Linked DNA regions of Homo sapiens: all the other regions are linked to region 7. The links are contacts of gene promoters, found by promoter capture Hi-C in human tissues and cell types (Jung and others, 2019). All regions are on one chromosome and are shown on one strand. Each heading gives the region's core, a stretch centred on a gene start or on the middle of the fragment in contact. The rest is flanking DNA. Distances are from core to core; before and after follow the strand shown.

The links. Contacts are between HindIII fragments. The study calls those that stand out against the background at their distance.
Region 1: a contact is called between a fragment that was not itself captured here and the fragment with the promoter of CTDP1 in region 7, in 3 of the 25 tissues and cell types used here (IMR-90 fibroblasts, mesenchymal stem cells and spleen).
Region 2: a contact is called between a fragment that was not itself captured here and the fragment with the promoter of CTDP1 in region 7, in 1 of the 25 tissues and cell types used here (dorsolateral prefrontal cortex).
Region 3: a contact is called between a fragment that was not itself captured here and the fragment with the promoter of CTDP1 in region 7, in 2 of the 25 tissues and cell types used here (mesenchymal stem cells and spleen).
Region 4: a contact is called between a fragment that was not itself captured here and the fragment with the promoter of CTDP1 in region 7, in 1 of the 25 tissues and cell types used here (dorsolateral prefrontal cortex).
Region 5: a fragment that was not itself captured here is called in contact with the fragment with the promoter of CTDP1 in region 7 in 5 of the 25 tissues and cell types used here (aorta, dorsolateral prefrontal cortex, hippocampus and 2 more).
Region 6: a contact is called between a fragment that was not itself captured here and the fragment with the promoter of CTDP1 in region 7, in 5 of the 25 tissues and cell types used here (H1 embryonic stem cells, IMR-90 fibroblasts, dorsolateral prefrontal cortex and 2 more).

Annotation. Positions count from the first base shown.
Region 1 is chr18:79,466,308-79,469,627 of GRCh38, forward strand. NFATC1 (nuclear factor of activated T cells 1) reads left to right here. Exons shown (of 10, transcript NM_001278669.2): 8 at 1,143-1,275. LOC107985162 (a long non-coding RNA gene) reads right to left here. Exons shown (of 2, transcript XR_001753518.2): 2 at 3,012-3,320. Among named protein-coding and RNA genes, the nearest start is that of NFATC1, 72 kb to the left of the region's middle. The HindIII fragment of the contact is 4,601 bases long and covers 1-3,320 here.
Region 2 is chr18:79,427,593-79,431,663 of GRCh38, forward strand. All of the region lies in intron 2 of NFATC1 (nuclear factor of activated T cells 1), which reads left to right. Among named protein-coding and RNA genes, the nearest start is that of NFATC1, 34 kb to the left of the region's middle. The HindIII fragment of the contact is 6,613 bases long and covers 1-4,071 here.
Region 3 is chr18:79,902,125-79,905,765 of GRCh38, forward strand. It overlaps SLC66A2 (solute carrier family 66 member 2), which reads right to left. Exons shown (of 6, transcript NM_025078.5): 6 at 296-2,059. The coding sequence ends at 1,852. Among named protein-coding and RNA genes, the nearest start is that of SLC66A2, 48 kb to the right of the region's middle. RefSeq lists an enhancer at 2,043-2,678. The HindIII fragment of the contact is 4,811 bases long and covers 1-3,641 here.
Region 4 is chr18:79,920,964-79,925,096 of GRCh38, forward strand. All of the region lies in intron 4 of SLC66A2 (solute carrier family 66 member 2), which reads right to left. Among named protein-coding and RNA genes, the nearest start is that of SLC66A2, 29 kb to the right of the region's middle. The HindIII fragment of the contact is 7,930 bases long and covers 1-4,133 here.
Region 5 is chr18:79,497,125-79,501,309 of GRCh38, forward strand. The region is part of intron 9 of NFATC1 (nuclear factor of activated T cells 1); the gene reads left to right. Among named protein-coding and RNA genes, the nearest start is that of NFATC1, 100 kb to the left of the region's middle. The HindIII fragment of the contact is 8,968 bases long and covers 1-4,185 here.
Region 6 is chr18:79,879,610-79,883,745 of GRCh38, forward strand. The region is part of intron 3 of KCNG2 (potassium voltage-gated channel modifier subfamily G member 2); the gene reads left to right. Among named protein-coding and RNA genes, the nearest start is that of SLC66A2, 70 kb to the right of the region's middle. The HindIII fragment of the contact is 7,076 bases long and covers 1-4,136 here.
Region 7 is chr18:79,677,342-79,681,375 of GRCh38, forward strand. It overlaps CTDP1 (CTD phosphatase subunit 1), which reads left to right and starts at 2,462. Exons shown (of 13, transcript NM_004715.5): 1 at 2,462-2,920. The coding sequence starts at 2,607. It overlaps CTDP1-DT (CTDP1 divergent transcript), which reads right to left and starts at 2,404. Exons shown (of 5, transcript NR_136643.1): 1 at 2,053-2,404. RefSeq lists enhancers at 1,587-2,094, 2,095-2,603. The HindIII fragment of the contact is 29,025 bases long and covers 1-4,034 here.

The DNA.
Region 1 (3,320 bases), core at 627-3,126, 210 kb before region 7:
TCCTGCTTGTTAAACTAAGTCATATGATTATAAAAATGAAACTTTATAGATGCGACTCCCGCCAACCCTCTCCCCAGATACCAAGTGCCGCCCTCGGCAGGGATGCCTGCATCACCCCAGTCATTTAGGGTCATCAGGGGCCCGAGTAACGCTGGGGCCTGAGCACGCGGTTGGGGTCTCCGTGTCCCAGCCCCCCACCCAGCCCCGACCTCTGCGAACAGCGCCACACGTCCCATGGCTTGTGTTTCATGTGTATACTTGAAGGAGCATGAGTTTCGTAAACATGCTGCTGGCTGTTACATTAAAAACATGAGAAGGTAACGGCAGCCTCCACACGCCGCCCTCTGCTGTCTGTGCCTCCGTGCCCTTGGCTGTTCCCACCCCGGGGTCTGCGGGGGTCAGGGCCTGCCTCCTCTTCCTCAGTTGGAGTGAATTTGGGGTCTGACTGAGGGCCTCGGCCATCGTCAAATGTGACAAACACAGGCCCTCCCCAGAGACCGCGTCTCCAGGAAGCACCTGCTCCTCTGGGTTTCGCTGCAGTCACCTGAGCAGGTGCTGGGCCACCGAGCACTTCCATCACACAGTGGCTGGCGGCGGAGCCTTGGGTCGTTTTCTGAAGGTCACCAACCCTTTGGCATCAGAGCAGGCAGAGCCTTTTGCATCCCCGCCAGTCCCCTTGCCCAGGTGGCCCCGGGCAACCTCCACCCTCAGGCACCCGGTCCCAGTTCTGTTTACAGCTTCTCTTTTCCTGGCTTCTTTCCCCATATTGACAAGATTTCAGTCTTAGGTTGGTCTTGTCTGCTGTGCTGCTCTGAGGAAGCCTCTCGGCTCCTGGGTGTGCAAGAAGCCAAGGGCAGCCCCTTCCCTGTGAGCGTGCGTGTCCACACGCGTGTGCAGGTGGCACAGAGCATCCAGGGCTGTCATCAGCTGCTTCTGGACCGCCCAGGTGGCTGCTTGGGAGTTTACCGTCACGGCAGTCCTGTGCTGCCGTGGAAACGCGGGGTTGCCGTGTGGCCGCCGTGGAAACGCGGGGTTGCCGTGTGGCCGCCGTGGAAACGCGGGGTTGCCGTGTGGCCGCCGTGGCGCGGCAGCCATCGCCTGCCCGGTGCTGATTGTGCCTCCTGTGTGCCCTTCTCCTGTAGAATTCTCTGGTGGTTGAGATCCCGCCATTTCGGAATCAGAGGATAACCAGCCCCGTTCACGTCAGTTTCTACGTCTGCAACGGGAAGAGAAAGCGAAGCCAGTACCAGCGTTTCACCTACCTTCCCGCCAACGGTAACGCCATCTTTCTAACCGTAAGCCGTGAACATGAGCGCGTGGGGTGCTTTTTCTAAAGACGCAGAAACGACGTCGCCGTAAAGCAGCGTGGCGTGTTGCACATTTAACTGTGTGATGTCCCGTTAGTGAGACCGAGCCATCGATGCCCTGAAAAGGAAAGGAAAAGGGAAGCTTCGGATGCATTTTCCTTGATCCCTGTTGGGGGTGGGGGGCGGGGGTTGCATACTCAGATAGTCACGGTTATTTTGCTTCTTGCGAATGTATAACAGCCAAGGGGAAAACATGGCTCTTCTGCTCCAAAAAACTGAGGGGGTCCTGGTGTGCATTTGCACCCTAAAGCTGCTTACGGTGAAAAGGCAAATAGGTATAGCTATTTTGCAGGCACCTTTAGGAATAAACTTTGCTTTTAAGCCTGTAGTCCTGATGTGGTCTTTAAGGATGGTGAATGAGCTTTGTGCTGGGCGGACGTCCCCGAGACACTTCTCCAGGGGTAACTTCATCTCCTGGGACCACGGGCATCCAGGCTGGGGCACCTTCTCCTCAACCTGCCTGCCCCTCACCCGCCGTGGGAATGGCTCCTTTTCACTCATACAAAAAAAAAAAAAAATCATCTTACCTTTTTAACCTTTAGGGTGTTTTCTTAAAGAAAATACCATCCAGTTTGTTTCTTCAGTCCCTGAACCAGTAGAAGAGAAAGGCGTCCCCCACGCCATCCCCGGCTTCCTTTGTGGGTACAGGCCACTCCCCCCAGCTCGGAGAGGACAGAATTAGCAGTCATCCTGAATTTTACTGTATTTTGTGGGTACAGGCCACTCCCCACAGCTCGGAGGGGACAGTTAGCGGTCATCCTGAATTTTACTGTATTTTGGGTAAGCTTAGCTAACATCAATAATCTTTTTATATTGCTTTTTTTCTAAAAACTGCAGAGATTCCTGTCATCTGAGAGGGAAATTACACACTGGGCGCTAATTGCAAAAGCAGCTGCGTTCTCTTAGTAAAATCAGGGTGTTTTGGAAGGTTTCCATTTTCTCTGAATGTAAACAGCATTTGTAATAGACCAGATCCTAAGGAAGCCCTTGAATCCCCACGTTCACACCAAACTGTTGGGACTCCTTGTTTTTATCAGGCAAGCTCTGGAAAGGCCTCTCAAGATGTGGAAAATGGGGTTTTGCTGTAAAGTCGCTGTACCCTAAGAGTGTCTGTGAGACAGAGCTGCAGGGGTGATGTGCAGCCCCCAGCCCAGCCCTCGCGGGGAAGAGCCTCACGCTCTGTGACCCCCAGGATTGTGGGGAGGGCCTCATGCTCTGGGACCCCCGGGATTGTGGGGAAGAGCCTCATGCTCTGGGACCCCCGGGATTGTGGGGAAGGGCCTCACGCTCTGGGACCCCCAGGATTGTGGGGAAGAGCCTCACGCTCTGGGACCCCCGGGATTGTGGGGAAGAGCCTCACGCTCTGGGACCCCCGGGATTGTGGGGAAGGGCCTCACGCTCTGGACCCCCCTGGGGTTTACGTGGTCTGTGCCGCCCACACTTAGTGAGTCCAGCCCATTCTTGGAACAAAGTACAATATATCTTACAGAAGAAAATATTTTATCTTTTTCTGAAAATATAATGATTGAGTCCTAATTAAACTTCAAGCATGGTTGACCAGAAATTGAATGTTTTAAAGAAAACCTAGGCCTTATAGAGAAGGATTGCTTTCCAGAGCAGTGCATTAATTTTTTTCTTATTTGCTCAGCATGCGGCAGTCCCCACCGTGGGTTTGAGCAGCACTGACTTTAGCACAGATCACGTATCTCAGAGGCAGAAGGGGCGTGCGGGGAGCGTGCCTGCCCTTCACAGGTGGGAGGTGGCGGCCCCCAGGACCGTGGCCACAGCATGAAGCCGGTGGGGCTGAGCCGCTCCTGCTACCTCCAGTCCACACCCCACCTGGCAGCCGGCCGTCCTGTCCTACCAGCCACACTCCTGCCTCGATTGGCCCCGGCTCCCCTCTCAGCATTGTGCCCAGCGTGGACATCTCTCCTGCACCCCCTGCCCAGTGTC
Region 2 (4,071 bases), core at 998-3,497, 250 kb before region 7:
GCCTCTGTGCAGCGGGTGGGGGAGAGCTGGACAGCTGGCCTCTGTGCGGTGGAGGCTGGACGGCTGGCCTCTGTGTGGTGTGGGGGCTGGATGGCTGGCCTCTGTGCAGTGGGTGGGGTTGGGGGGGTGCTGGACGGCTGGCCTCTGTGCAGTGGGTGGGGGGGTGCTGGACGGCTGGTCTTTGTGCAGTGAGGGGGCTGGACAACTGCCCTCTGTGCAGGGGTCGGGGGGAGCTGGATGGCTGGCCTCTGTGGGGTGGGTGTAGGGGGAGCTGGACGGCTGGCCTCTGTGCAGTGAGTCGGGGAGGGGGGTGGCTAGACAGCTGGCCTCTGTGTGGTGGCAGGGCTGGACAGCTGGCCTCTGTGCAGTGGGTGGCGGGGGGGTGCTGGACGGCTGGCCTCTATGTAGTCGGGGAGGCTGGATGACTGGCCTCTGTGCAGTGGGGGCAGGCGCTGGATGACTGGCCTCTATGCAGTGGGTCGGGGGGCCTGGACAGCTGGCCTCTGTGCGGTGGGTTGGGGGGGCCTGGACGTCTGGCTTCTGTGCGGTGCGGGGGCCGGCCTCGGGCCGGTGGGCAGGCTGGAAGGTCAGCCAGGCCCTGTGGTGTCTTTAGTGAGAAACAGGAAATAAATCAAGGGGATGTTGTAGAAGTTTTACCGCTGCTGGTTTAGAAGTGTTTGTTTTTATTATTTGTATATAATGTGTTGTTTTCAGTCTTGCACTGGTGTTTTTAACTATCGTGTAAAGATGCAAACAGCAGGCCAGAAAACTGCCTTGATATATCACATTGGCAAAGACCAAGCGCACCCCGGACCCTAGTGGGTGAGCCGGACCCATTGGCAGTGGCCTTTGTGGTGCCTCCAGGGAGCCTCACGATGCTCACGCCTCTGACCAGTGGTTCTGCGCTCAGGGCATGACCGGAGATGTGGTCTGGGAGTTGGTTGTGTGGATGTTTGCGTTGCCAGCGTTTACAACAACAGAGGGGAACAGCCCACAGCCCAGCAGTACAATGAGGATGGTCCTTGTGATAAATGGGATGCTGTGATTAGATTGTTTCTGAATAAGCTAAAATGCTCAAAATGTGATCTTTCTTTTATAAAAAGGCCAGGTATGGTGATACGTGCCTGTAACCCCAGCACTTTGGGAGGCTGAGGTGGGAGGATCCCTTGAGCCCAGGAGTTGGAGAATGCAGTGAGCTGTGATCACACCCTCTAGCCTAGGCAGCAGAGCGAGACCTTGTTCTAAGAAATAAAAAGAGAAAAAGAAAAGACAAAGTACCAAATTATGTGTCTCATTTTCTTAAGATGTATCATTTTGTAAAAATGTTTATAGAAATACACCCAGTGGGCTGGGCACAGTGGCTCACGCCTGTAATCCCAGCACTTTGGGAGGCTGAAGCGGGCGGATCACCTGAGGTCAGGAGTTCGAGACCAGCCTGGCCAACATGGTGAAACTGTGTCTCTACTAAAAATACAAAAAATTAGCCGGTGTGGTGGTGGGCACCTGTACTCCCAGCTACTCTGGAGGCTGAGGCAGGAGCATTGCTTGAACCTGGGAGGCGGAGGCTGCAGTGAGCCGAGATGGCTCCACTGCACTCCAGCCTGGGCCACAGAGCGGGACTCCGTCTCAAAAAAAAAAAAAAAAAAAATGGAGAGAGAGAGAAACAGAGAAAAACACCCTTTGGCTCTGTGGGCGTCGGTCACCGTCCAGACCGGGTGGACGTTCGTCGGTCACCATCCAGACCAGGTGGATGTTGGATGCAAATTTCACCCGAGCTTTTTTTTTTATTTTTTCAGTTGTGTTGAGTGTCACTTTTTTAAAAAATTGACTTATGTTGAAGATGAGTTTGAAGTTGTTGGAATTATCTCAGTCCTGAGCTTAGGGCTTCAGCAAGCGAGTTGCCGTTCCGGGGGATGGGCTGGTCAGAGACCCCCGACTGAAGCACGCCTGCCCGAGGCTGCCCCAGGCGTCGTCCCCCAGAAGGAAGCACGCGGAGTGGAGTGGGGTGGAGAGCAGGCAGCAGCGGTCCCGTCTCCGCAGCAGTGCAGGCTCCTTTCCCGCTCATTTGGGCTCTTTTGTCTGAACCAGAGACACAGATTTGTAGAGCTGCCAAATTCATGCTGAAAATTTCTAACCAAAACCAATCATCTTAATTGTCTGGATTATGATATTTATTTTGTAAACCATTCTTGCTGTAAGCCATGCACACACTGTGTCACTAAATCTGCAAATGATTCCAGAGCCAAATGCAGTCCTGCACCGCGGCGTCGGGTCAACGGCGGACTTCACCTATGAGGGTTCTCGTGAGATCGTGAGAGCGTAGTTTTACTGCATCTTTTCCATGTTTAAATGTGTTTAGATTCACAAACTGTGACCGCTGTGGGGCAGTCACCCACGGTGTTCAGTGCAGCCACATGCCGTGCAGACGTGTACTGGGGAGCCGTGGGCCACGCCACGTGGCTAGGGTGTGCACTGGACACACCGAGTCGGTTCACACGAGTTCCCACGACGACAAAATGGCCTAAGGACGCGTTTTTCAGAATGTGTCCTTGTCATAAAGTGACACGTGGCTGCGTTTACACAAACTTATTCTTATGTAATAGTCAGCTGCAGAGTGGTTTAGACTGCCTTATCTTTAGGAAATGTGTCTGCCTTTAACCAGACCAGCGGTGGGGGGAGGCGGCTTTTCTTTTCTTCTTTCCTCCTCTCTCCTCTCTCTCGCTGTCTCTTCTCTGTCTCTTAACTTTCCTGGGAATCCAGTGAGCCCAGTTTTTTCACTGTGAATTTTGTTTTTGGTTTGTTTGTTTTGAGATGGAGTCTCACTCTGTTGCCCAGGCTGGATTGCAGTGGTGCAATTTCGGCTCACTGCAGCCTCCGCCTCCCAGGTTCAAGCAATTCTCCTGCTTCACCCTCCCAAGTGGCTAGGATTACAGGCACTCGCCACCATGCCCAGCTAATTTTTGTATTTTTAGTGGAGACGGGGTTTCACCCTGTTGGCCAGGATGGTCTTGGTCTCCTGACCTCAGGTGATCTGTCTGCCTCGGCCTCCCAAAGTGCTGGGATTACAGGCATGAGCCACCACGCCCGGCCATGAATTTTGTTTTTCATTTGTTTCTTTTTCAATTCATAGCAAAAGATAGGTGCAAGGTGCCTGAGACGGGCACCGCCTCGCATCATCTGCGACTTTGTTTGGTGCCTGCCTGTCCAGGAGCAGGTGTGGCCACTGCAGAGGGGCCCTTCATTGCCCAGCCCTGCAGCTGCCCCCTCTCCCTTCCCCAGAAACTCACAGCTGGCCGCGAGCTCTGTGCAGAGAAGTCTTTCTCTGGAGGCTCTTGTCCTTCCTGTGTGGAGGCCTGGGTCCAGCCGCCTTTCCTTCTGCCTGGCAGCGTTAGCTGATACTGGGTGTCCATGCTGATCACCTCACGTGGGAAACAGCTCTGACAGTACAGCCCATGAAGCTGCGTCTTGGAGATTCCTCTGTCAGGGAAGCTGTCGTGGCTGAGTTGGGGTCCAGCAGGCACCCGCAGGGCCCAAAACCCCACAGAGCGGAGGTGGGTGGTGAGCCTGCCAGGTGCATCTTTGGATAAATCCATTTCTGAGTTTTCAAATTACTATGAAGCTTCCAATGTCACAAAATATGTAGTCTTGTTCTTGCTAAGGAACATTTTAGGTGTTTGTATTTTTAAAAATTACGTAGTTGATTCCATTCAAGCTGCCTCCTGGGCTTTTTCCTCTTTAAACGAGTCTTCTATTCTGCCCATCGTTTTTAGTTTGTTTGTTTTGAGACAGAGTCTTGCCCTGTCGCCCAGGCTGAAGCACATGCGATCTTGGCTCACTGCCATCTCAACCTCCCCTGGCTCAGGCGATCCTCCCCGCTCAGCCTCCTGTGTGGCTGGGATCCTCCCCACTCAGCCTCCTGTGTGGCTGGGATCACAGATGTGCACCACCACGTCCTGCTCATGTTTTTATTTTTTGTTTCGTAGAGATGGGGTCTCTCCATGTTGCCCAGGCTGGTCTCGAACTCCTGAGCTCAAGTGATCTGTTCCCCTTGGCCTCCCAAAGTTTTGGGAT
Region 3 (3,641 bases), core at 867-3,366, 220 kb after region 7:
CCTTTACAGGAGACCCTTCCCATGCTCTAAGCCTTCGGTGGTGGGAGGCAGAAGGGCGGATGTGGCCAGGGCAGCTAGAGGCAGTGCCAGACCCGTCTGTGAGGAGCCAAAAGGACCCCCGGGCTGCCGGCCCACAGGCACAGGCCAGTGACAGGTCGAGGGGGCTGGGCTGTTGTTTGGGGCCCTGGAGGAACCCAGGTCACACAGGGGCCTTCTAAGGTGGCCCAGGCTACAAGGGTGTGTCTGGGCAGAGGCCAGGACCACAGCCAGATCCTTCCCTCTGCCCAAGGCCAACTCAGGATCCACAAATGGTTTATTGATTCCAAGTCGCCACACAGGGTACATTCAGCAGTCACTGCGCCTGCAGTCGGCGACAGTTTAATGTGAGGCAATTACCGCTACAGACATCTTGCTTCATCTTAAAAAAATAAAAATTTTCAAAGCATCTCACAGGCCAAAGAGCTAAGCAGGACCCTCACTCAGACATTCAAGAGTGTTTCCGAGGAAAACTCGAGGAGGAGGCAGCGTGGAACATCTTCCCATGGCCACGGCCCCGGCACAGAGCTCAGATGCCTGCGGGAAGCGGCCCCTCCACCTGCGGAAGGGAAGACGATGCCTGTTGGAGCCGCACGGAAGCATCCAGAACTCTGAGGCCTGGGGGCCGGCTGCGGTCAGTGCAAGGCTGCTGACATGGTGTGACCTCTTGCAACGGGGTGGGGGCAGAGCGTGCGGTGACAAGGGTCAGACTGGCGGCTCCCACTGCAGCCAGAAGTGAGGGAGCCAGCACACGGGGGTGGGCAGTGGACAGGACAGGATGCGGCAGGCCCCAGTACCCCCCACTCAGGAATTTGCTTCAGGCCAAAAGCCCAGGGCAGCAGGGTAAGGCGCCATCGGCCAGGACCTGCACGGCAGGGGCAGCCCCCTCCACTCCCTGGACCCGAGACCGTCTCTCCTGGAAGATGGACATCAAAACTGCATCCGGAGGTGCAGTCTGCACCCAGAAGGAAGGGGATCTCCGCCAGCAGAGCCCAAGAGTGGCGTGCAGACTGCATGTGCACAGCCTCAGCCCGGCCCCCTCAGCCATTGCCCATGAGGGCCTCCACGTTGTCTGATGGTCGCTGGCATCTGCCACGTCCCCAAGGACTCGAGGAGAACCAGAGGCTGACAAGAGCAGCATGAGCTAGCCCTGGCGATGCTCAGCCGGGCTGGACACAGCGGATCCACAAGGCGTTCAGGCCTCGCAGCCACTCCAAAGGCCCAGGAAACACCGACTGTCAGAAAACCCGGAGCACGGTGACCCTGCGTCCGCACAGCCGCCTTTCCGTGTGTACCAGGCAGAGAAAGCCCCAGCCCTCCCCCGTGCCAGACCCCTGGGTAGCAGAGGCCACCCCAGTCCAAGCAGGGTGTCTGGCCAGGGTGTCACGGGGTCGAGGGCTCCGCTCACAGGCCTTACAGGGTCTCCTGCGGTCACCCCAGCTTCAAGGTTCGCGGCTGCTGGCCCGTGTGTCCACCTGGAGCAGGTTCCTGCAGGCCGCCCAATGTGTACCTTGGGCTCAGACGGTGTTTCATAAGAGGAAATGGGGAAAACACTTGCTTTTTATGTCATCCTAAAAACATCCAAAACCCTCGGGGCCAGATCAACCCTGGCTGTCCCCGCTGAGCACAAACAGCGTCCCAGCCCCACCCCCACTGCCCACCCTGAGACACCCCACAGAGGCTGATGGAGACCCCAATGCCCATGCCCCATCTCTGCCACACCTGCAGGGGCCACAGCACCCACCCTCCCCGCGGGGAGGTCAGGGCCCACCAGTGCCCGCGGCTGGCGGTCCCACATCCTCGTCCTCCCCACTGTCAGAGGGCCTTGGTGCCAGTGGGGTGCACGGCGTGGGGCGCCGGCTTCTGGGGGTGGCGGGCGAAGGCGTAGGCCTGCCCCAGGATGGCCAGGTCCACCAGCACCTGCAGCAGGCCGCACACGGAGAACTGCAGAGGGGCACCCTTCAGCAGGAAGTAGGCCGTCTTGAAGGCGTCACCACTGGTCCACATGAGCACCATCTTGATGCTGTGGAGACACAAGCAGGCGGTCAGCGGTGGGGAGGGCGGCGACCTGGGCTCAGTCAGTGGGGAGGCCTGGGGCTTAGACAGCGGGGAGACCTGGGGCTCAGGGGCACCCAGGGGGCTAAGGGGACCCCCAGGCAGTCGGCGGGGAGGCCTGGGGCTCAGGGGGCACCCAGGGGGTTGAGGGGACACCCAGTCTACAGGGTGACCCAGGGGTCAGGGACACCCCAGGGGGCCAAAGGACACACCCTGACCCCACCTGTCCCATGCAACCCCCACCCTTGACTTCTCTGTGGCCGCAAGAGCTGCCGCCTGGCTGGGGCTCTGCAAGCCCAAGAACAGTGAGACCAGCTCGAGGCTACAGGGGACAGCAGGGCGAGCAGCTGACGTCAGGGCCCCTGGTGCGCGGTGGCAATTCTGGGAGGGGCCGGGCCTGGGAGGGTGCTGAGGACGCAGATCTGTGCCCCCAGGCACACAGCCAAGTGGAGCAGAGCAGCTGCTTTTGGGTCTCTGCCGGCCTCCCTCCCTGGTGATAGATGCAAACCTTCCTTTCCTGGAGTGAACAGGGAGCAGCCGCCACCCACCATCCCAGTCCGAACACGCTTCCCCCACCGCTGTGTTCATGCCCTGGCTTGCCTAGCAGTGAACATGAGTGCTGCTGCACTTTCCCGTGTGAAATGTTTAAATCAGCGGCCGCTGACCCTTCCACAGCTCCTGAAGCCAGAGGCAGAGCCTGGGTGGGGAGCGCTGCCTGGACAGAAAGGACAGGACACAGCCCTCCCCCACCCTGGGGCGTCCGTCCCGCTCATAAGCCAGGGTGGGCACCTGGGTGCCGTAGCCGCCCTGTGTGAGAGTCTTCAGGCACAGCCATGGCCGGGTGTGTTCAGGGCTGGAGCTAGGAACCCGCAGGAGACAGCCGGCATCTGCACCCCCTCCTCTCTCCCAAGCCCACAGTGCTCGGCTCTAGAGCATCTTGTTGGCCTCTGAGAACATAAATCCGGCTTTATCATTACACCCACTGGGAAAAACCAGGAGGCTTTGGGACTGTTTCCACTTGGGTCGGTTTAGCTAAATTATAAGGCCCTGACCCACAGAGGGCATTTTCCTCCCATTTTTTATTCTCTGGGATGTGTCCTCCCCTGGATGCAGCTCCAGCTCCACAAAATCCAGTCTCTTCCACAGACAAAAAGACAGGGTGGTGCCTGGGTAGCACCGGGGGAAGGTGGTGCAGGCCCCTCGGCCTCTCACACACCCCAGCAGTCAGCCCAGGCTTCGGAATTCCCCCCTGCCTGCTTTAGGCCCAGGCAGGGCTGCACAGCTGACTTGGGGTGGGGCTCCGGGCCTGGGACCACAGCCCCGGTGCAAAGGCGCCTGCCTTTCCTGCGCTAGCCATGCACACAGCAGGCGCCCGAGCATTGCGCGGTGACCCCGCCACCGGTCACCTTCGCCCCACGCAGCTTCCGGTTGACCCCTCACACCAGGATGGGAAACAGAGCTCGCCTGACCCTCACACACGGCTGAGATTTCCCAGGATGTGCTTGCGAACAAGACTCAAGGCCTGAGAGCCACCACCACGCCTGCTTCAG
Region 4 (4,133 bases), core at 1,263-3,762, 240 kb after region 7:
GGAACCGAGGGAGAGGTCAGGGTCAGAGGAGGAGAGACAGGAACCGAGGGAGAGGTCAAGCTCAGTGAGGAGAGACAGGAACCGAGGGAGAGGTCAAGGTCAGTGAGGAGAGACAGGAACCGAGTGAGAGGTCAAGCTCAGTGGGGAGAGATGGAACCGAGTGAGAGGTCAAGGTCAGTGGGGAGAGACAGGAACCGAGGGAGAGGTCAGGGTCAGAGGAGGAGAGACGGGAACCGAGGGAGAGGTCAAGGTCAGTGAGGAGAGACAGGAACCGAGGGAGAGGTCAAGGTCAGTGAGGAGAGACGGGAACCGAGGGAGAGGTCAGGGTCAGTGAGGAGAGACAGGAACCGAGGGAGAGGTCAGGGTCAGAGGAGGAGAGACAGGAACCGAGGGAGAGGTCAAGGTCAGTGAGGAGAGACAGGAACCGAGGGAGAGGTCAAGGTCAGTGAGGAGAGACAGGAACCGAGTGAGAGGTCAAGGTCAGTGAGGAGAGACGGGAACCGAGGGAGAGGTCAGGGTCAGAGGAGGAGAGACAGGAACCGAGGGAGAGGTCAAGGTCAGTGAGGAGAGACGGGAACCGAGGGAGAGGTCAGGGTCAGAGGAGGAGAGACAGGAACCGAGGGAGAGGTCAAGCTCAGTGAGGAGAGACAGGAACCGAGGGAGAGGTCAAGGTCAGTGAGGAGAGACAGGAACCGAGTGAGAGGTCAAGCTCAGTGGGGAGAGATGGAACCGAGTGAGAGGTCAAGGTCAGTGGGGAGAGACAGGAACCGAGGGAGAGGTCAGGGTCAGAGGAGGAGAGACAGGAACCGAGGGAGAGGTCAAGGTCAGTGGAGGAGAGACAGGAACCGAGGGAGAGGTCAGGGTCAGAGGAGGAGAGACAGGAACCGAGGGAGAGGTCAAGGTCAGTGAGGAGAGACGGGAACCGAGGGAGAGGTCAAGGTCAGTGACAAGAGATGGGAACCGAGCAAGAGCGTGAGGGGCAGCCGAGGGTCAGAGGAGGAGAGACGGGAACCCAGGGAGAGGGCAGGGTCAGAGGAGGAGAGACGGGAACTTGGGAGCAGAGTAAGAGGTCAGGGTCGGTGAGGAGAGATGGGAACTGAGCGAGGGGTCAAATCAGGGAGGAGCCATGTGTTCTTGATCATGCCCCCCTGAAGGAGCCTTGGTACAAATAATAACTCAACATAAAAGACGCTGACATCAGGCCAGGTGCAGTGGGCACCTACAGTCCCAGCTCTTCAGGGGCCAAGGAGGGAGGATCGCTTGAGCCCAGGAGTTGAGGCCAGCTTAGGCAACACAGAGACACTTGTCTCTTTGAAAAGAAAAAAAAAAAAAAAAAAGCTAAAATCCTTCAAATTAATCTTAATCTCTGAGAAGCCGTAGAGTGCAGGGAGTGCCCTGCACTGGATCTGACGCCTGGGTTAGGGGCGCAGCCCCCCTCGGGTTAACCACGGTCTCCTGTTCCTCAGATGTTACCAGGAAGAGACAGAGACCACTCCTAGGACATTCTGGGGATTCAACGAGTTGATCTTGAGTTCTACAACACGCCTCGGCCACGGTGCCGCTCAGTAAATCCGTACCACATCCCTCCTGCACGATGTCATTTGCTAGATGCTGTATTCTGTAGAAACCACACTCATAAGCACTCTCAGAAATTAGCAAATTAAAGGAGGCAGGTGGACATGTGCAGTCCAGGGGACATAGCGGCAGGGAAAAGGTGAACGGAGACAAACCTGCCAAGAAGCCTGCAAGGCCCGCACCTGACCTCTCCTTACAGCAGCAGGGCCAGGGCATGGGCTGCAGGGGTGGGGTGATGGGAGGCGGTGAGGTCGAGGGGGTTGGGGGTGCTGAGGGGTGAGGATAGAGGGATTGGGGGGGTTGGGGTATGGTGAGGTTAGGGGGGCTTGGGGGCATCAGAGGGCAGAGAGGCCAGGGGTGTCGGGGGCCGGCTGCCTGTGGGGCTGGCAGTGCAGTGAGGGCAGGGGTGGCCAGGCTGTGCACCTTCTCCCCATCCCCTTGGACCCTAGATCTGTGCCTCTCTTCCTGCTCCACCCTCTCTCACTCTGAGTGAGACGCTGCTCGGCATCCGAGCTGGAAAGGGGCTGCACAGGAAGCAAGGCCAGAGGAAGGATGGGCATGGTACGCGGCACCTCCCAGAACACAGCGGGGCGTGGGCTCATGTGTATTTCATGAAGAAGCCCGGCTGCAGTGAGGGGGGCTGAGCAGGATGGGCTATGGACAGGGGGGCTGTGGACGGTGAGGGGGTGGATGGGGGGGGGCCGTGGACGGGTGGGTGGAGGACGGGGGGCCATGGACAGGCGGGTGGTGGACAGGTGGGTGGTGGATGGGTGGATGGTGGACGGGCAGGCAGGGGGGCTGTGGACAGGTGGGTCATGCATGGGCAGGTGGTGGATGGGCAGGCTGTGCACGGTGGGCTGCGGACACAGGACGCCAGGTGAGGGTTTAAGAGACTTGGGAAAGCCAGGTCTAAGGTCCATCTCTGGGAGACCTATTTTAGTTTCCCCAGGAAGGAGTCAATTGGCAAATGACTAACAGAAAATCCTCACTAAACAGTTTCTGAGAAAAGAATGAACCTGGATGCTTACCTTATACCACATACGAAATTTAACTCAAAATGGATCAAAAACCTACAAATAAGACCTGAAACTAAAACTCTCAGAAGAAAACATGAGGAAACACTTCAAGACATTGGATTTGTCAATGAATTTTTAGCTGTAAAACCAAAAGCACAGGCAACAAAAGAAGAATAAAAGATAAACCGGACTTCATCGAAATCTAAAACATGGCCAGGCGCAGTGGCTCACACCTGTCATCCCAGCACCTTGGGAGGTTGAGGTGGGAGAATCACTTGAGTCCAGGAGGTCTTGAACATCATGAGATTCCATCTTTACAAAAAAAATAAAAAATTAGCAGGGTGTGGTGGTGCGCACCTGTGATCCCAGCTACTTGGGAGGCCGAAGCAGGAGGATCCCTTGAGCCCAGGAGTTCAAGGCTGTAGTGAGCCATGGCTGTGCCACTGCACTGCAGCCTGGGTGACAGAGTGGGACCTGGTCTCAAAAAAAAAAAAAAAAGGCACTGGCGAGCTTAACCGTACACGCCAAACACCCTCAATTCGTGCATTTACCACTGCCGGGCCGGCGGAGAGGCTCCCGAGGATGGCAGAGGGACAGCAGGGTGAGAGGCACGAGGCGAGGCAGCTGAGATGCGTGGTGCAGGTGGGGGCAGATTTCCAAACAGAACGTGGCCTGGTGCACAGTGGAGTATTAGCCACAAAAAGGAAGAAAGGGCAGATTCATGCAACAACACGGATGGACCTTGAAACAGGACACCAAGTGACAGAAGCCAGACACGGGAACCACACACTAATGAGTCTGTTCCCATGAAGTGTCCAGCACAGGCGAGCGCACAGACAGCAGACGAGCCGCCGTCGGGGCTGGGGGAAGACGGAACTTGGGGAAAAGAAGGAAACTGGTTCGAAGGGGTTTCTTTGGGGGTGATGAAAGGCCCCCTAATGAGACAGTGGTGATGGCCGCACAACTCTGTAAATACACTAAAAACCACCGAACTGTGCACTTTTAAATGGTGATAAAATTGTGAATTTTATGTTATGTAAATTATATCTCTAATTTGAATGTTATGTAAATTATCTCTCTAATTTGAATGCATAACGAAATAGAAAATTTTAATGTATGTGACTTGTCTTATACCAAAAGATGCAGACATATCTACTTGTTTTATTAAAAAGTATCTACTTATTACTTATTAGTAAATACTTATCCAGCATTTTCTGATGCTGAAGTTGAAAATAGTTCCTTCAACTCCAAGTCTGGGAATTAAGGTGCTGTCATTTGTATCCAGAACAATTTGAAATAAATTTAGCAGCCATCTACCATTAGCTGTCAGCTCACATGTGCTGGGGAATTGGAGCAGGTGGCGGGGAGGAGCTGGGTAAGGAAAACGCTGGCTGAGGCTGACCTGGGGTGGCTCAGACAGCGGGAAATGAGATCTCTAAGTTCAGTCAGGAGAAGTCGGCGGACACGGGGGACACCTGGTGGGCATGGTGACTCCTGATCTGTCCGGTGGAAAAGAACATTTTCTGCACTTCTGAGACATTC
Region 5 (4,185 bases), core at 1,275-3,774, 180 kb before region 7:
GAATTTCTGACTGTTTGCTAAGGCACGTTTCCATAAGAAGGACTGGAGAGAAGCAGGCCTTCTAAACTGCTGGAGAGCATCTTGAATCAGCTCTCCCCCAAAGCAACAAAAATACAGCATCACTGTCAAATCAACCACCAAATCTGGCAGTCAGCCAAGAGGACAGAACAAACACAGATGCATTCACTCAAGGAAGAGCGGCCCCAGGGGGAAGAACAGGATGGCAGCGTCTTCACTTGGGGCCGCTCCAGCCCCGAGGCGCACAGCCGTGGAAAGCCGGTGACAGCACAGACCGTGGAGGAGCTGGGCTCTGTTGAAAACCCCATCCCAGGATGCAGTCCGCATTTGGACTGGTCATGGAGCTCCTGGAAAAGGCCCGTTCCGAGGCACAATCACCGTTGGCTGCAGTCGTGATCATGGGAGCTGCCCCAAGGCTGCGATCGACATTGGAGCAAACAAGAGCCTGGCCAGACCAGGTGACCCCGGGGACTTTGAAAAACCTTGGAGATTCCCGGGCACATACGAAAATGGATGTGTGAAGGCTTCGGTACAGAGAGGGCCCCAGCCACTCTTCTCTGGCTGACCTCAAAACCCCACCAAGCAGAAGTGAGAGGTAAAGCTGCCTGTGGCTGGGAGGCAGGTCCTGACACACAGGTTTTGTGATTAGAGGGAGGAGACTGGCTTCGTGGCTCAAGGATTTAAGGAAACTTCCTGTCTGGTAACAGCAGACCATTAAACTCTGCTAACCAGAGGGTGATCCCTAGGCAGCCTGGCTTAAAGACAGAAACAAGATTTAAAAACAGAGAGAACAGAAAACTCAGTGTCCACATTCTGCAAGGAATACAGCATCTAGATAATTAGTCCAGGAAAGTCATGAGTCACATAAGCAACAACCAAGGAGAGGGGAAGCCGAGAAACAACAAGTCCTATTTGGAGGGGGATGGGGGGGGGGGAATCTCATTTCAGAGTCGCTACAATGCATTAGTTGTCATCTCCAGTTGTAAACCAAAAAATTATAGTACATGCAAGAAAACATGAAAATATGTCCCATCCACAGGAAGAAAAATCTGTAGCCCCTGAGAGGGCTCAGGTATTAGACCAGCAAAGGCTTTAAATCAGCTGCAATAAATATGCTCAAAGAACTGAAAGAAATTGTATTTAAAAAATTACAGGGGAGTGTGGCAAATATATCTTACCAGATAGAGAATATCCATAATGAGATTTTTAAAAAAAAAAAAAAAGAAGCCAAATAGAAATTACACAGTTGAAAAGTAAATGAAAAATGCATTAGAGAGGCTGAACAACAGATTTGAGCTGGCAGAGAAAAAGAATCAAACGTAAAAATCAACAGATTATTTAGACTGAGGAACAGAAAGAAGAAAGAATCAATAAAAATGAACAAAGCCTCAGAGCATGTGAGATGCTGTAAACACATATACACATGCATAATGAGTTATAGAAAGAGATGATTAGAAGAAATACGTGAAGAAATAATGGCCCCAAACTTCCTAAATTTGATGGAAAACATTATTCAGTGCATCCAAATGGTTCACAAAATTCAAATGGGATAAATTAAAAGCAGCTCACACACAGACATAAACCAAACTGTTGAAAGTCAAAGGGAGAGACAATCCCGAAAGCAGTGAGAGGAAAACAGCTTCTCAGTACGTGGGATGCTCAGCAGGATTAACAGCCAGCTGCTTATTGTGAATCGTGGATGTCGGAGGACAGTGGGACGGCGCATTCAAAATGCTGAAAGAAAACCACTGTCAACCAAGAATTCTATATCTAGTAAAACTCATCTTTAGAGATGAAGAAACAAAGCTGTGCTCAGATAAACAAGACACACAGAATTTGTTGCCAACAGACCTGACCTACAGGACATATTAAAGGGAGTCCTTCAGGCTGAGGTAAGAAGCACTGGTGAGAGTAATTACATAGGTGAATTAAAAAGACAGCACAAACATGTTTTAAACTTTTCTTCTCTGAACTGATGTAAAAGGAAACTGCATAAGACACGATTGCAAACCTGTGCTGATAACAATGTGCTTATAACAATTTGTGTGACAGTAGCACAAAGGAAGGGGTGGGGAAGGAAGTTACAGCAAAGCAAAGTCTTTACATATTATTAGAACTCAGTATTCATCTGAAATAGACTGTTTTGACTAAGATGCTTGTTGTAATCTCCAGAGGAACCACTAAGAAAATATATATGTGTGTGAGTGTGTCACACACACACATAAAATGTCAAAAAATGCACTTAAATGATACACTAGAAAATATGTGTGTAACACAAAATAAGCCAGTAATGAAGGAACATAGAAACAATGACAACAGCAAAAGTTACACAAGACATGTAGAGAACAAATAGCAAAATGGAAAACATAATCCTACCGTATCAATAATCACATTAAATGTCAGTGGAATAAACACCCCAATAAAAAGGTAGATGTTGTCAGACTGGATGTTAAAGACAGAATGAAACAGGGTACAACCATATGCTGTCTAAAAAATACATATTTTAGATTTAAAGACACAAATAGGTTGAAAGTAAAATGATAAAGAGATACTGTGCAATAGTAATCAAAAGAGATATGGAGATAATGGAAAAAATACATACTTCAGATTTAAAGACACAAATAGGTTGAAAGTGAAAGGATGAAAAAGATAGGCAGAGTTAATGTAGAAATTTGGAGTAGCTACACTAATATCAGACAAATTAAACTCTAAGATAAAAATATTACTAGAAACAATGAACTGTCAGTAGTCATGTTCTCTTTGATCTTAAACCTGATACATTGAACAGGAAGATATAAACACATTTGCACATAACAGAGCCCCATAATACATGAAACAAGAACTGACAGAATTAAAGGGAGAAATACATAGTTGAAAAATAATAGCTGGAGACCAGTATATCACTCTTAATGGATAGAACAACTAGACAGAAAATCAAAAGGATATAAAACACTTAAGACTATCAACCAACTTTACAAGACATCTGTAGGACACTCTACAGAGTGCACATAGGATAGACTTCCTACTATGCCATAAAACAAGCCTTAATAAATTTCAAAATATTCTGATTGCAATGGATATCAATTGAAAATCAACAACAGATATTTCCACAAATATTTGGAAACTAAACAACACATTTCTAAATAATTAATGAGTGAAGTTAGAAAGTATAAGGGAAATTGGAAAATATTTTGAACTAAATGCAAATGAAAACACAACATATCAAAATTTGTGGGATGCAGGTAAGGCAGTGCTTAGAGGGAAATTTATAGCTTTAAATGCCTATATGAGGAATAAGATGGATTTCAAATCAATAATCTAAGCTTTTTCCTTAAAAATGTTGAAAAAGGAGAGAAAAAACCCAAGGCAAGTGGAAAAAAGGAAATGCTGAGGATGAGAAGAAAAAGCAATGAAATAGAAACATGAGAAAAATCAATAAAACCAAAGTTAGTTATTTGAAAAAACAACAAAATTGACAAAACTTTAATGAGTTTTTCTAACAAGAAAAATTAGGAATGAAAGAGGGGACATTGCTACTGACCCTGCAAAAATCAAAAGGTTATAAGGGAATACTATAACCTTATGCCAACAGATTAAACAACCTGGATGAAATGGAAACATTCTTAGACACGAATTACCTAAACTGACTCAGGAAGAAACAGAAAAGTATAATAGACCTATAGCAGGGAAATAAAAGAAATTAATAATTTAACATATTCTCACAAAGAAAAGCCCAGACCCAGAGAGCTTTACTGGTTAATTTTATTAAACATTACAAGAATAATACCAGTGCCAATACTCCACAAACTCTTCAGAAAATGAAGAAGGAACACTTCTAATACTGAAGCCAGTATAGCCCTAATACCAAAATCAAAAGTATCGTAAGAAAAACTATAGAAAAATATTCTTTATGAACACAGGAGCAAAAATCCACAACAAAATATTATCAAACTGAATCCAACAACATAAAAAAAAGATTTTACACCATGACCAAGTGGGATTTATCCCAGTAATGCAAGGTTGGTTTAGCATCAGAAAATGAAGTCATGTGATGTACCATATTAATAGAAAAAGGACAGAAACCACGTGATCATTTCAATAAATGCAAGAAAAAAAGCATTTAACAAAATCCAACACCAACTTATGATAAAATCTCTTGACAAACTT
Region 6 (4,136 bases), core at 1,295-3,794, 200 kb after region 7:
AAGGCAGGGGGAAGATGCACCGCTGGGAGGTTAATCCAGAAGTCCCGCTCTGGCCTACCAGGGTTCCAGAAAGGCGAGAATGAGAAAGGGTGTTATGGTTCAGAATTGGCTCAGAATTCAAGACACCGGACTTATCCCAACCAGTGCACGAATCCCCCAAGGCTGAATGGAAACGCACGCGTGTCAAGGCGTCTCATCCTGAAACTTCAGGGAAAAAAGAATATTCTAAAAGCTTCCATGGTGAGAGGGAAGAAACGAGGTCCCACCAAAGGCAGGACAGGAAGGGGCCCCCTGGGTCGTAGGCGGGTGGCACTAAGCAGTTCTGGAATGAAACCATAAAACTTCAGGAGAAACAAAACATTCTATGAGAAAAAAATGTAATTGTAGAGCACGACTTGGCTCAGCAATGAGCATGTTCACATTTTCTTAACACTGTGAACGCGCATGAGTTATCTTACCCCAAAAATGGGATGTAACAATGTCTGCAGAAAAGAGGTTACAGTTATGGTGGTTGAAGGTGGGGTGTGTGGGAGACCCAGATTCTCAACTCTACAAAGTCACCCAAAATGTGTAACATTAATATGCCAATAAATGGCCAGATCAGCATTTAGAAGTAGGGATAGTTACATGGGTTGGTTTTGAATATCACATGAGCCAAGATCGCGCCACTGCCCTCCAGCCTGGGTGACAGAGTGAGACTCTGTCTCAAAAAAAAAAAAAAAAAAAATTACATGTACAATTACTTTGATAAGACAAAAATTAACTTAAAAACATGCTCAGTCACCAAAATTCACTCAAGAAGAAATAAATAACATAATCCTATGGTAATTAAAAAAATTAAATTCATAGTTTAAAACCTTCCAGGAAGAAAATTCCAGGCCCAGGTAGTTTCACTGGTGAATCTAACAAAAATTTAAGGAATAAATAACACCAATTCTACATGGTCTCTTCCAGAAACATGTAAGAGGAGGGATCCCTTCCCAACTCATTCCAAGAGGCCAATACTCCTCTGATACCAAACCAGAGACATGACAAGAAAAGTAAAAACAAAGACCAGTGTCTCCCATGAACTCATGCGAAACTCCTCAACAAAACATCAGTAAATCGGGGTTGGTAAAGACATAAAAAGCACAGCACATCACGGCCAACTGAGGTTTTTCTCAGGAAAGCAAGCTTGGTTCGATACTCAAAACCAACCCATGTAATTCACAATATTAATGCACCAAAGAAAAAATGCCAGCTGTTCATCTCAACAGATGTAGAAAAAGCGTTTGACTAAATTCAGTATCCATTCATGATTTTTAAAACAGCACTTTCAGCAATTTAGGAATAGAAGGGAATTTCCTTTTCCTGATAGAGAACATCTACCAAAAAAACCCTACAGCTAACAACATACATAGCAAAAGACTGAATGTTTTCCCGTTAAGATTGGGACCAACCCAAGGATGCCTGCTCCCCACTCCTCTTCAGCACCTGTTGGCAGTCCTAGAGAGAGCAGTGAAGCAAGGAAAGTAGACGTCGTACTATTGGAAAGCAAGAGAATAGAACTGCATATGTAGAAACACGCTGTCCAATTGGAAAGCAAGAGAATAGAACTGCCTATGTAGAAACACACCATATGATTGGAAAGCAAGAGAATAGGACTGCCTATGTAGAAACACGCCGTACGATTGGAAAGCAAGAGAATAGGACTGCCTATGTAGAAACACGCCGTACGATTGGAAAGCAAGAGAACAGGACTGCCTATGTAGAAACACGCCGTATGATTGGAAAGCAAGAGAACAGAACTGCCTATGTAGAAATTCCCAGGAAACCCACAACAAAGCTTAAGAAAATTAAGGGAGTTGCTAGCAGTGAACTATTGGAATTCAAATTTTTTAAAGTTCATTAATAGCACCAAAAACCATGAATTGCTTACATGCAAGTCTCACAGCCTAGGTCCAGGATCCATCTACGTGCTGATAATTACAGCTAAATACAGCTGATAATTACTGATAAAGACTGAAATCAACGAAGGCCTGCAGTGCTCACGCGCTGAAGACTCGGTGTGACTAAGATGTCCACCCTCCCCATAGTCCATCTCCAGATTCAGTGAAATCCCATTCAGAATCCCATTTTCTGCAATATTTACAAGCTGATTGTAACATCTTTATGGAAAGGCCTAGGAACCGTTTTGAAAAAGCAGCAGTTGGAACTGACACTGCCTGCTTTCACGATTTGTTCTGAAGCCACAGCAGGACAGTGTGGGGAAAGGACAGGCGTGGGGTCGTGGACACAGTCCAGGAATAGAACCACATGAATGGGGCCAGCCGGCGTTTGGCAAAGTGAAAAGGCCGGGCACGGAGAAAGAATCGTCTTTTCAACAAATGGGGCTACAACAACTGAACTCCCATATTTTAAAAAAACACAACCCATGCCTTACGTTTTATACAAAAATTCAACTCAAGGTGGACCGTGGCCCTAAACATATAACATTTAAAACTATAAACTTGTAGAAGAAAACATAGAGGTGGCCTTGCCAATGGAGAGTAAGGAAGGAGTTCCCAGACGTGGCGTCAGATACGCGATTCATGAAATATGAAAATGGATAGGCTTCACTTCATTAGAATCTAAAACTCCTGGCCTAGTTGGGGTCTCAGGCCTGTAACCCTAACACTGAGAGGCCGAGGTGGGAAGATCACTTCAGCCCAGGAGTTCACGACCAGCCTGGGCAATATAGCAAGACCCTCATCTCTATTAAAAAAATTCTTTTGACTTTTGTCCACAAAAGACTGTTAAGAGAATGAAAAAACAAGCCTCAGACTGGGAGAAAATATTTGTAAATCACATATCTAACAAAGGACTTGTAATTAAGCTATATAAAGAACTGTATAAACTCAACTGTAAGAAAATAACCTGATTTTAAAAGGGACAAAGTTTTGAACAGACACTTCACCAAAGAAGACACGCCTATGGCAAATACAGCGCTGAACTGTTATTAGGGAAATACAGAGTTAAGCCACAGGAGCTGTCACTCACATGTTAGAAGGGCCCTGATCTAAAAACCAGCCGAGAGCAGCAAGCTCAAAGGAGGGTGCGCGGCCGGCAAGGCTCAGGACCTGCAGGCCATGGAGTGGCGAGGCTGCCATGGAGTGGCGAGGCTGCCGTGGAGCGCGGAGGCCGGGTACACCTGCGCGTGGAGCGCGGAGGCCGGGTACACCTGCGCGTGGAGCGCGGAGGCCGGGTACACCTGCGCGTGGAGCGCGGAGGCCGGGTACACCTGCGCGTGGAGCGCGGAGGCCGGGTACATCTGCGCGTGGCACGCGGAGGCCGGGTACACCTGCGCTCATCGCACACCAGCGCCCACGCCCAGGACGTACTCGCGGGAAGGACAGCGTGTGTCACGTACAGAGCGAGTGTTCAGCCGGCTTTATTCAGCACGGCCTAGCCCGGAAGCAGCCGACACGGACCGCGACGGCCGGTGCCAGATCAATCCCGGTGCATCCACGGTGCGCGGTGAAAAGCAGCAAAGGGTGGGTGCCCGGGACAGCACGAATGGGCTCGCAGGGCCTGACGCGGGAGAGGCCAGGCCAGGAAGCCACGCTGCGATCCCGTCTATGGGATACCTGGGAAAGCCAGGGGTTGGGGGCCAAGACTGGGTGGGCGGGGTCCGGCTGTGAGGCAGGGAACGGCGGGGGGAAGCTGGGGGAGCTGTCCTGCGTCTTTGCGCTGCGTTTTCGCGGTAGTGGTGGTTCCAGGACCGTGATTTGTCCAGACCCATAAAGCTGAGCTCTGATGAGCGAGCAGGTCCTTTTGCATAAATCTTTGGGCTCATTTCTGACGTTCCCTGACAACTCCCCAAAATAGAATTTCTAGGTCAAAGTGCACACAGTCTTTGAAGGCTTTTAAAATATATTAGTGCAGAGTTTTACGAGTTTATACCCTGCCCCGCCTGGACCACCCTGGGCCCCAGAACCTTGGCTGTGGCCGTGACCCAGGGGACACTTGTCTGGTGGGGACAGGGCTGAATTTGTGTGGCTGCTTGGGGACCAACTCAGCAGCTTCTAGTGAACGATGAGGAGGGGCCTGTCTGGCAAAGGTGAAGACATGTCTGTCTGGTAAAGGTGAGGATGTGCTTATATGTCTTAGAAGCCAGC
Region 7 (4,034 bases), core at 1,212-3,711:
AAACCAGAATAGGCTCAGAGAGACTCCAGTGCCACTGTGTGGCCAAAGACTTACGGACAGAAAAGGGAGTGAGGCACAGAAGGCAGAGGTGAGGCCTGCAAACAGCAGGGTGGCTACAGCTCGTGTCTGGCTTATTGAAACAGAGTTTGAAGTGCTGCTGCCTGTGACTGATTCAAGAGTAGGTTACAGTGTCCACACATCCAATTAGATGACTGTTCACTACGTATGGAGAAACCTATAGGCTAAACTTACAGTATGTAAGGAGGCGGCTTCAGGCTACAGCTGAGTAGTGTGTCCTTACAGTTGGAACCAGGAGTTCATGGGAATTCTTCATCATCCAGTGGTCTGTAAATGTTGCCCATGCTGAGTAGTCTGTCCTTACAGTGTGAACCAGGGGTTCATGGGAATTCTTCACCATCCAGTAGTCTGTAAATGTTGCCCATGCTGAGTAGTGTGTCCTTACAGTGTGAACCAGGGGTTCATGGGAATTCTTCACCATCCAGTGGTCTGTAAATGTTGCCCATGCTTTAGTTTTGTTACCTGGTTGCTCTGTTTTTATGGGATTGTGAGAAACTGAAAAACTGTGACTGCTGGAGCCATTTTCCCACAATCCCCATTTTTTAAAAATCCCATAAAGGCTCTCTCGTGAGCACCGCACGTTTTCCCTTGTAGTCACGAGGGTAGGGGCTGGAGAAAGCAGCAGAGATAGTCAAAAACCCACAGCTACAAAAAATGCACTCCTAAGAGCAAGTAATGGCGAGGGCTAAAAGGCACTGTGCCCCTTCTGGGCCATTCTAATTACCACATTTAAATGGTTTTGAGAAAAGAGAATTTTTATCTGAGGAACGCGAGTTCTTTTAATTATCAGGCCGAGAGAGACATTCAAATGAGGCGACAATCGCGCCCTACTACCCCTTGACCTGTGTTCACCTCTTTAAACTGCTACTGGTGGCAACAGCGCCACAAACAGCTATAAATTAACCTAATGACGCCACAATGGACACTATACCCACACTCAATAGCTGAACAACATATAGTCAGTCACTAATCAATGTTATTTCTGTAAACCAGTGAGAATTCCTCACAAACAAGTTCCTATTAGTCCACTCCCTGGCCCCCTTTTTTGCCTTTAAAATCCACTGTTAACTGCTAATCGGAGTACACATTCAGGGCGCCTTGAATTTGTGCTCAAGTGTGGCCCAAATAAACTCTCTACTTAGAGAAACTGTGTCTCCGCTCGTTTTCAGGCCGACAGTTTCCAAAATGTTAGTATTCAGCCTAACATGAGAAAAGTCACCATATAAAAGTGAGGGGGGAAAAGCAAATACAGGATAATCTCAATTGTATATAAAATTTATATACGTAAGGACAAAGATACATAGTAAAAAAAAAATTCTGGCAGGTATTAAGGCTGAAAAAATTAAAACAGTCCAGAGCGGTCTGGCTCAGGCCAGCCTGGGCCTGCCGAGTAGCTGGGACCTCAGCCACCGCGCCTGGCTAAGTATTAATGAATCTGTTTTAGAGATAGGGTCTTGCTACGTTGCGCAGGCTGGTCTCCAACTCCCAGGCTCAGGTGATCCGCCCGCCACAGCCTCCCGAAGTGCTGAGCCTCCCAAAGTGCTGAGACTACAGGCCTGGCCGCCCGCCCGCCAGCTTAATTCACGTAAATTCCAGACAAACGTAGAAAGTGGCTCCTTTAGTAAGCCACTTGCGGCTGCTGCTCATCAGGGTTCGCCTGGGGCCACTGAGACCACGCGCCGGTGCCCGCCCTCCCGCTGCGGTCCGATTTTCTGAACCAACCAGGCGCTTCCGGGCGCCTTGCCCCAGACGGGCCCACCGCCTGCGCGGGCCGAGGGCGGCGCACCTGCCCCTGCGCTTCCGCATCGAAGGTGAGGTCGGAGGAAGAGAAGACCGCAACCCCCAAGCTCCCGCGGCGTGGGGTCCGGGGGGGGACACGAGGCGGGGCCACCAGGACGCCGACAGCCTCACGTCTCTGGGCCCGCGGCGCGCAAGGCATGCCGGGACCCGTAGTCCCGCGACGTTGCGACTCACAGTGCGCGATGGGAGTGGAGGAGAGCGGCTCGCGGTGCATGCCGGAACTCGTAGTCTCGGGATGCTGGGTCTCAGCGCGTGATGGGGTAATGGCACGCAGGCCTGCGTTGAACGCTGGGACTCGTAGTCCCGCCATGCTCTGTCCGCGGTGCACGCCGGGATACGTAGTTCCGAGCGCGCCAAGACCGTCACTGGGACTGGGCGACAGCGGCCCGCGTTGCATGCCGCTGCTCCACGGTGCCGGCGCTCCGAGGAAAAGTAGGTAGGGCTCAGGAACGCAGTTCTTCACGGCCGGCACGCAGGGTTGGTCCCAGGACGGAGCCGGCTCCGGCCCCGCGCGGCGCTCGTATTTACACGCGCACGTACGCACGTACGCGGCGCCCTTGCGTGACGTCACGCGCCCTCCAGGAAGTCGGCGCGGGCTAGGCGACGGGTGGAAGCCGGTACCGAGAGGAACTACAGCGTCGCCGCCTGGGTTGTGTCGCCGCGGTAGGCGCTGCGCTCTGAGCGCAGCGCAGGCCCCGTACCGACCGCCCGCCCGCCCTCTGTCCGCGATGGAGGTGCCGGCCGCGGGTCGCGTTCCTGCCGAGGGCGCCCCGACGGCGGCTGTGGCCGAGGTGCGCTGCCCGGGGCCCGCGCCGCTGCGCCTGCTGGAGTGGAGGGTGGCGGCGGGCGCGGCCGTGCGCATCGGCTCGGTGCTGGCCGTGTTCGAGGCCGCCGCCTCCGCGCAGTCCTCCGGGGCCTCTCAGTCCCGTGTAGCCTCCGGGGGCTGCGTGCGCCCCGCGCGGCCGGAACGCAGGCTGAGGTCGGAGCGCGCGGGCGTGGTGCGGGAGCTGTGCGCGCAGCCGGGCCAGGTGGTCGCCCCAGGGTGAGTGTGCTGAGCCGGGCGGGGCCGAGGGCGGGCGGCTCCGGGGAGGGATCCTGGAGGACCCCCGGGCTGCTGCGTCCGCGGTGGGCAGGGGCGCCCCTGGTGAGGGAGCGATAAAGCGGGACGCAGGCACTGCGCTTCTCCCCTAAAACTGGATAGTCACCACCTGTGGTTTTACCAACGGGGAGCATTTTGAGATAAAAGGAAAGGGTCCTGCGTAGCGACACGAAGTTACTGTTTGGAAAAGCTATGTTTGTTTCTTTCTTTCTGCAGTGATAGTCCCCGCCCCTTCCTTTAGCTCCACCTTTGTGACTTAGGAAAACTCATGGGTGGCTGTGAGCACAAGAGTCATCAGGCAGGCTCCAGACCTGTTATTGAAATATAAACTGTTGGGTGTGTGCACATCTTTAAATTTTTGTAAACTTTGTGAAACGCAGTTGTAAAACCTGGTGCAGTTCTGTTTCGTGGCTAAGGAACGGGCGGAACCCAGGCCTGCAGCGAAGGCAGTAGCCCCGTGGTTGACCACAGTGGGCATTGTCGCAGGCTGCTTCAGGGTGACGTGGGCGTTGTGACAGACTCCACAGCTCTCAGTAGCTGTGCTCTGACCCCAGAAGGGGATATGTTTCCGTAGCACCGAAGTGTCCAGCCATGTTTGAATCTACCCTTGTGTTCTGGGATGGGCGGGCAAGTGGACACGCGTGTGCGCCTGGCTCTGGTAGTTTTGATTGTGAGAACAGAAACTCCAGGGAGAGGTGGACACTCCAGCCCGCAGTGGGCCGGGCGTGAGCTCCCTCTGGGAAAGGTGCCGCTCCTTCTGGGGATGCCACTCTCTTCCCTCCTCGGCAGCCGCGGCTCCTCGTCCCTTTGGCTTGCCCTGACCCTGTGTTTGTTGAGGATCTTCTCTGCATCTGGTTCCGCAAGAGTGAGGACTGGGACAGGAGTCTTCCCGTCACAGCCCCAGAACGTCCTGGCTCCGCTTCCTTTGGAGACAGAGCCTGGGTCCTTGACCCTCGGCACGGGCACTCACTCCTGCCCCCTGCGTGCTGGTGGGTGGGGCTGGGAGGTTCAGGGCCTTGCCTCCCAGAAAATGCCTTCACGGCTTCCTCAGTGGGCA